Linked DNA regions of Homo sapiens: region 2 is linked to region 1. The links are contacts of gene promoters, found by promoter capture Hi-C in human tissues and cell types (Jung and others, 2019). All regions are on one chromosome and are shown on one strand. Each heading gives the region's core, a stretch centred on a gene start or on the middle of the fragment in contact. The rest is flanking DNA. Distances are from core to core; before and after follow the strand shown. Region 1 holds the start of ZBED3 (zinc finger BED-type containing 3). Region 2 overlaps PDE8B (phosphodiesterase 8B).

Region 1 (3,683 bases), core at 1,184-3,683:
GGCTTCCAAGCTCCTATTTTAAAAGAAAGTTTCTTGAAGCTAAATAAAAGCACTGCTAACATGAAATTAACAGTGGAAATTTTTGAGTGTAATTTCAGGGTGAAAAAAACTGAAAAGACAAATGTAGATTTTAGATATTTCAAGGAAGGAGAGAGAGTAGTGTTGCTGGTACCATGCCTCTGCACTTGCTATAGCTGAGTTTCATTTGAGTATCCATTATTTGGAAGGAGTTCTTAAATCTAAGCCTGTGGAAGACAATAAATTCACATTAATTATCTCTCCATTTGACTCAATTTCTGAAGAAGTTCTATCCTTCTGATGAACTATCAGATTAAATCCCAGATTCCTCAGTATGATGTCCCTGAATACCAATATAAAGAATAAAGGAAGAGATCAAAACCTGGATGAATAATCTGTATAAACATGGGCATATACACAAGGTATGACTATAATATTGAGACTCATCCTATAAAGCACCTACAAAAGTTGATTGTATTATTTTATACTTATGCTTGTGCACATAAAAAATATTTGGCAGGCTAAAGGCCAAAGAACCAGGCACTGTTCTCAAAAGGACATAGCAGATTAACTACACCTCTATTTGTCCTTCTATACTCAAGGCTACTTACTGTAGTTGGGTTGACCAGGCAGAGTTTAAATCAATATATGTTGGTTGAGCCTGGATCTTAGATGAGAAATTCACACTAACGTGAAATTCACACAGACATATGTGGAAACACTAAAAACATTTTCTTTTACTTCATCCACCAGTGACTTTAATGAAAGCAGAGCATAATAATTAATACAAGTAATTAGAGTTGACAACTGAAGTGTCAAGAAAACCACAGTTCATCTGTTATCCGTCCATCTCTGTTGAAATATTAGTTTACTGCCATATATTAATCTATTTATAAAGAGATCCAGACAATTAGAAAAATTAGTCTGGAATCACCAGGCTGAAGGCTTAGCTGAAGTTAAAAGACAAGTAAAAATGCCTCCAAACTGTAAAACCTGAGTTGGGGAATAAATGGTAAAATGTGTAAAAATTTAGAAAAAGGTTATATGTGGACTGTAAAAAATACACTGGACTCACAGGTAATTAAGGGGTGAATCAGAGTTGTTTCCTAAATGGCATAAGCCAAACTCTTAGATATTTCTACCATTAGCTAAAAGGCAGAGAAGCACTCTCTCTCTCTATTAATGCACTTTTAAAAATGAAAATTGTGAAGTGTTCTGCCCTTAAAGTGGACCTTTATTTCAGGTCTGCATTACTTTGCTTAATAGATATGGTCCTAAAGATTAAGGTGGTGATCCATTTTATCTTGTAAAAATGCATAATTTAATCTGAGTTATAGGAATTTAAAGCTGCCCTACTTTGAAGGCCTTTGTGACTCAAAGATTTTTTTAATTTAATTTTTAAATTGAGAATTACCTGGCTTGGGCTTTTGGTCTTTTTATAATACGTATTGCTGTCTACTTTTTTTTTTATTCTTGGCTGCCTCAAGCTATTCTTGCCTCCAAAAGGTGTCAGCATATGAATAAAAACAGCAGAAAATAATTACCCTAATTAGGTCAATGTATTAAGCTGTTTCTACAACTGTTTCTCTTAAACACCTTATCTTTGTAGTCTTGGCTCATTAGAAATTCGACTAGTGGTAAGTATTTATTTTTTTCCTTCAAGGGGGTTTTTGCTTTGCTAAGCCTCGGGCATTTGGTTCGTGCAAGAAATCACAGAAACTGCTCCAGCGGACTCCGAAAGGAGCGGAAAATTCTTTTGTTTGGGGGCCATGAGGGGTGGGGGAGGGGTGGGGATTCTGGTGTAAGCTTTTGGCTTGCATTCGCTTTCTCCCTCCGAAAGTGGGCGACATCAAGCAAGTCCCAGTTACAGAAAGAACCCACTGCAGGGCGTCCAGTCACTTGCCCAGTGAAAAGACTGTAATCAGACAACTTTAATAAAGGGAGAGCAGGAGAGTGGTGACGAATTTCCACATTCCGAACAAGCTTGTCGAAAGAGGAGTGCAGGGAAGGAGCAAGAATGAGGCACTGGAAGACGGTGAGCGGGGCCTTGCCACAGAATCCCGGGCCCACCTGCTTTCTCACAGTCGCGACAGCCGGCCCGGAGAAGGGCAGCCCAGCGAAGGGCACGCCCCGCGCGGGTGCCAGGGAGGCCGGCAGGGGCGTCCGCGGTCGCTGCTCACCTGCGCTCCCCGCTGCCCGGCCCAGCCCGCCTCGCCACCGAGTCTGGAAGCCCACACTCACCCCTTTACCCGGGAAACGCGGCCGGAGCCGGCGGCGGGTCGGGAGTCCGAGATGGTAGATCCCCCTCCAGGCGCCTCGCTGACATTTTGTCCCGGACGGAAAACCTCCGCGCGTGCCCCTTAAAGACACAGCGCTGCATTCACACGTCTGCGGGGAAAGGGGGGCCGTCACGTGTGGCCTTCGCCCGAAAGCGGTAGGGGAGTCGCTCTGAAACCGCCAAGGATCGCGAGCGACAGATTTGTGTTGGCCAGGGTTTTAAGATGACGCAATAGCTGAGTGTGGTTGAAATGTAACTATTGTTTTACAACTTTGCATTAACCTTCCAAGACCTGAATTCCCGGGCCTGAGTCTCAGAGCGCGGTTTGCATCTTTGCAGGCTGTAGGCGCATGATGTCACAAGTTATTGGAAGAAATCCCTCCAACCTAGGTTGGGACAGATGAAGGCGGCGCTTATTGGTGTTCACCAAAACACCAGCATGGTGTACCAGCTTTGGCTAGATGATGCTCAGGTAACGAACAACCCCTGCAACTCAGTGGCTTAAAGGTCCATTTCTCAAGCGAATTACTGTGGCTGCAGGGAGCTTTGGCAGTACTCCACCAGTTTTCTTCACTCCAGGCTGAAAGGTCAACTTTTCTGGGCCATGCTCCCTGCTGGGCTGGTAAACCAACTTTGAGGGAGAAGGGGGAAGTCCAGATATGTAGTGTTTGCTATTTCTATGATGTAAATGCTCCCACAATGGCCGATTTCAAGCTACAAACAGTCCAACAAGTGGCTTGCCAAGTTCCTGGAAATTTAACAATTAGCTCCTGTACATGACTGGCACAAGCTGCTTTCCAAACTCACATTCCGCATGCCTCAGTTCTGCTCACTTTCTATTGGTCAAAACTTGCTGTCAGTGGGTGGGGAAGTGTACCCCTCTCTTAAGGAAGCCTTGCAAGTCTTGTGACAATGAAACAGGAGAGTTCCCTGATTTCCTCCCGGCCCCCGCCCTCCCACAGCCCTTTGCAGGACGTGCAACAGGGTTGTGGCTCGTGTGTTCGGTCTCTGCCTGCTGAAACCCCTTATGGGAGGTGGAGCATGCAGACGGACGGGTGCAGGAGCCAGGGTGCAAAAGCTGGGGCGCTGGGCTTCCAGCCCCACGGCAGTGTCCAGGGGCAGGATCCCGTGATTCCCGGAGCCCAAATGGGCGTGTGTTACAGTGTGCTCTTTTAGCCTTACCATCAGCTGACGGCTTAAGTGTTAACCAGCTCAATAGACCCTCTGCCTTTTTGCAAGCGCAGAGGGTCAGTGTGACAGTTTCTGTATCTCAGCTCTTGTCTCACCTCCCAGAAGAATCAGGTCACACATGGACTTGAAGGATGGTGAGTGCCGGGGTGGGGGCGGGGGTAGAGGAGTTGGGGGAAGGTTGGGGGTGTTTATTAGG
Region 2 (3,683 bases), core at 584-3,083, 320 kb after region 1:
GAGATGGAAAAGTCAAAGACGATTCTGACATTTCATTCCTCGGTGTCTGGGAAATTTTAAGTCATATATACAGAAATGGAAACGTCTCCAGGTTTTGCTAGGTTGGGGGTTAAGGAGAAGATGATGAATCTTATTTTAATGGAGATGGCTAGGAAGCTAACCTGCAACCCTGGTACTCGGGGCTATAGATGTGGAGTTGGCAGTCCTAGTGGTGACAGGTGAAGCCAGGAGCAGAAGAACATCTCTAAGGGGTGTGTGATGTGCATGTAGTGAAAGGACAGAGGGTCCAAGCCTGAGCCTGAAGGCATAGTCTCAGCCAGGGGGTGGGCAGTGGAAATAGGGCCAGTAAAGAGGACAGAAGAGCTGGGGGTGACCATGAGAGTGCAGTGTCACATGAACCAAGAACAAGAGGGGATTGAGAAAGGCGGTGGCCAGCAGTGTTAGATGCTGTGGATATCAGAACTCGAGAGCGGACAACAGACTAGTAGATTTCACTCGCTCATTTGATTTTTATTTGGCAAATGGGAGGACACGTTCTGGGGTGTGAGGAGGGGATGGTTAGTGCCTGTGATAGAAAAGAGAGATGAGGCTGGTAACTTAAGAGAGTCAACAGAAAGGACAAGGGAGGGACTTTCCAGTCCTTCTGTACACAGTAGGAAGACTGAGTATGAAAGTGGCTGACATAGGCCAGGTGCGATGGCTCATGCCTGTGATCCCAGCAGTTTGGGAGGCTGAGGCAGGCGGATCACCTGAGGTCAGGAGTTCGAGGCCAGCCTGATCAACATGGTGAAACCCCCTCTCTACTAAAAATACAAAATTAGCTGGGTGTGATGACGCATGCCTTAATCCCAGCTACTCAGGAGGCTGAGGCATGGGATTCGCTTGAACCCAGGAGGCGGAGGTTGTGGTGAGCTAGATCGTGCCTCCAGCCTGGGCAACAAGAGCGAAACTCCATCTCAAAATAAAAATAAAAATAAAAAAAATTTAAAAAGTGGCTGACATAGCAAGAACCAAAGATGCTAGAGACAAGATGATAATTCACAGGGCATGTGAGGGACAGTAACCAATAATATAAAGAGAATATGAATCGAGAGATTTTTGAGATGGATTGAGCGGATAGATAGAATATTTTAGTCTGAGAGGATAAGGGATGAGGGAATTTGAACTGGATTCACTGTTTTTGGAGCAGAACTTGAAGGGGACTGTCTTCTTTCCAGTACGGGCACAGTGGAGGCTGAAGAGCATGCAGGTCTGCAATGGCTGCTGCACTAGCAGCGGGGGGACCCCAGAGGTGGCTGAGCAGGAGGCAGGCTCTGATGTGGGGTGGGTTCAGTGATCCCATCCATGAAATGGGACTCCCCCTCCTGCCTGCCTCAGAGGGGGTGGTAGGAAGATCTGATGAGAACAGTGCTTTTCAAGTCAAGCTTCTACCCTTGGCATCTTAAACCAAGTATAAACATTAACTATGTAGAAAAATAAAAGATTTTTTAAAAAATGAAAGCTTCTGTAGATTTGAACTAGAACTTCCATGGGTTTCTGGGAGTTAAGAGCCTAAAGGCATGGGCAGGCGGAGTGACTGGCCCTAATTCAGACTGAGAATGGGCTCAATCCTCCGCCCTGACCCTAACCATGAACTGCCTCCCCTCTCAAGCTGGCTGCACAGTCATCTGGTTACACGGCCAGCAGCTTAGGACTGAAAGTCATGGAACTGCAAAAGTTGGGTTTGGGTGACTTGGGGGAAAGTGAGCCGTGTGGGGGTCATTAAGCTGTTGGAATGAGGCCTTTTTGGACCTCATCAACCTTCTCTGAAATTCCCCTTGTGGACTTGGGGCTCAGCAAGCCCTCCTGCCTCCAAAGTTCCAGGCCAGATCGCCTTTCCAGACTCAGGCAAGTAGCAGTTGGGCTACCAGCCTTGGCAGAAGAGATGGGTGAATTCATGGCTTTTTAGGTGGGAGGGTGGCCCTGTGAGAAGCGGGCCCTGGTCCATGAAGGGACTCCTTTGCTGCACTTAGCCACACTGAGCCACCGGAACTGGACACAGCTTTCTTGCCTTCTCTCCAGCACCAAGCCTGCAGAATCGTCGCTATCCGTCCATGGCGAGGATCCACTCCATGACCATCGAGGCTCCCATCACAAAGGTGAGTGGCGGCTGCTGCCTGCACTCTGCAGTCAGGGGCCCTCACACAGGGCCGTGCTCTGAAAATACATCACACTGACATCATGGAGCTCAGTCTAGTGGAAGAAGCAAATAACAGGCAAATAAACACATAGCAAATAAACACCTCATCCTAAGTCACAATCAGGGCAGTGAAGGAAAACAAGCGGGTTCTGTGAGAGAAAATTAGAGTAGGGCCCTTAAGTAGGTTGGAAGAGAGGGTGGTCAGGGAAACTCTCAGTCATGTTTGAAGCAAGTCTTGAAGCATAAGATGTTACTCAGGAGAAGAAGGAAGAGAAGACTCCGGGTAGCAGGAACAGCCAGGGAAAAAGCATTGCAATGGGCGAAGAGGGACTGGAACATTTAAGGAGCTGAAAGAAAGTCGGAGTGGCCGGAGCTTGGTAAGCAGGTGAGAGAGGAGGAGGATGTAGGTTGTACAGGGCTCAGCTCATTCTGGACAGCAGGGACATAGTTAGGAGTTTGTATCTTAGTTTATGTGCACTGGAAACCACTGAAGAGTTTCAGGTGTGGGGTGGGTGATGTGACCAGATATGTTTGTTGAAAAGAACACCCAGCTTCTGTGCAGAGAATCGATTGGAGGTGGCAAGAGAACAGGTCAGTTAGGGGGCTATTCTAGAAGTAGCTGAGCTAGAATTATAGCTGTGGAGGTGGAGAGAAATGAATAGATCAAGAAATATTTTGAGGCAGACCAATAGGACTTGGTGATGAATTATATTGCCAGGGTAGGGAGAGGAATGAGGAAAAGTATTATGTCAGGCATGGCCCTCCCAGGTTTTTGGTGTGAGCATGAAGTGCTTTCTTGATAGAAAATGACATGAGATAGAAGTGCTTTCTTTTGCAGTGTAGAAACCACAGAAGGTGAACAGCTTTTGTCTTTGATTTTTTTGTTGTGTGTGTTTATGTGATTTCTATGGAGAGAGGGGAACAAGACTGCAGTTTAGTGTTAGACCTGTGAGATATTCCAGTAGGTATGTCAGGTAGGGAATTGAATGTACAAGCCTGGAGGTCAAAGGAAGTTGAGGGCTGGGAGGTATATCGAAAGTCCCTAGCTATAGGTGTCCAAAGTCGTGGAGACAAAATATCATTTCTGGAAGCGAGAGAGTGAGAGAGGGGCCCAGAACAGATCTCTGAGCAACTCCAATCTGTAGAGGAGGGCCAGGGGAGGTGAATCTGCAAGGGAGCCTGAGGAAGCCTACTCACTGAGACAGGAGAACATTCACCAGGAGCCCGCAGGGAGAAAAGCATGCTTCAGGAAGAAGGGCGGTGCCGTGAAAGCACTGGTCATTTTGAATAAGAGATGGTTACCCACTGATTTCTTTTGGATTCTGGGCATATATATGACTTTTGGGAAGTAGAACCCTATTATCCTCAGATGTATTCTTTCTTCACTCCGTTAGGTTATAAATATAATCAATGCAGCCCAAGAAAACAGCCCAGTCACAGTAGCGGAAGCCTTGGACAGAGTTCTAGAGATTTTACGGACCACAGAACTGTACTCCCCTCAGCT

Evidence for each region. Contacts are between HindIII fragments. The study calls those that stand out against the background at their distance.
Region 2: a contact is called between a fragment that was not itself captured here and the fragment with the promoter of ZBED3 in region 1, in 2 of the 25 tissues and cell types used here (aorta and dorsolateral prefrontal cortex).

What each region holds. Positions count from the first base shown.
Region 1 is chr5:77,084,852-77,088,534 of GRCh38, forward strand. ZBED3 (zinc finger BED-type containing 3) reads right to left here and starts at 2,434. Exons shown (of 3, transcript NM_032367.4): 1 at 2,260-2,434. It overlaps ZBED3-AS1 (ZBED3 antisense RNA 1), which reads left to right and starts at 1,864. Exons shown (of 3, transcript NR_182763.1): 1 at 1,864-2,768. It also overlaps a transcript of PDE8B not described here. RefSeq lists enhancers at 2,092-2,693, 2,694-3,296, 3,297-3,683 and a silencer at 2,106-2,275. The HindIII fragment of the contact is 7,057 bases long and covers 1-3,683 here.
Region 2 is chr5:77,405,320-77,409,002 of GRCh38, forward strand. PDE8B (phosphodiesterase 8B) reads left to right here. Exons shown (of 22, transcript NM_003719.5): 13 at 2,062-2,138; 14 at 3,574-3,683. Among named protein-coding and RNA genes, the nearest start is that of WDR41, 85 kb to the right of the region's middle. The HindIII fragment of the contact is 6,497 bases long and covers 1-3,683 here.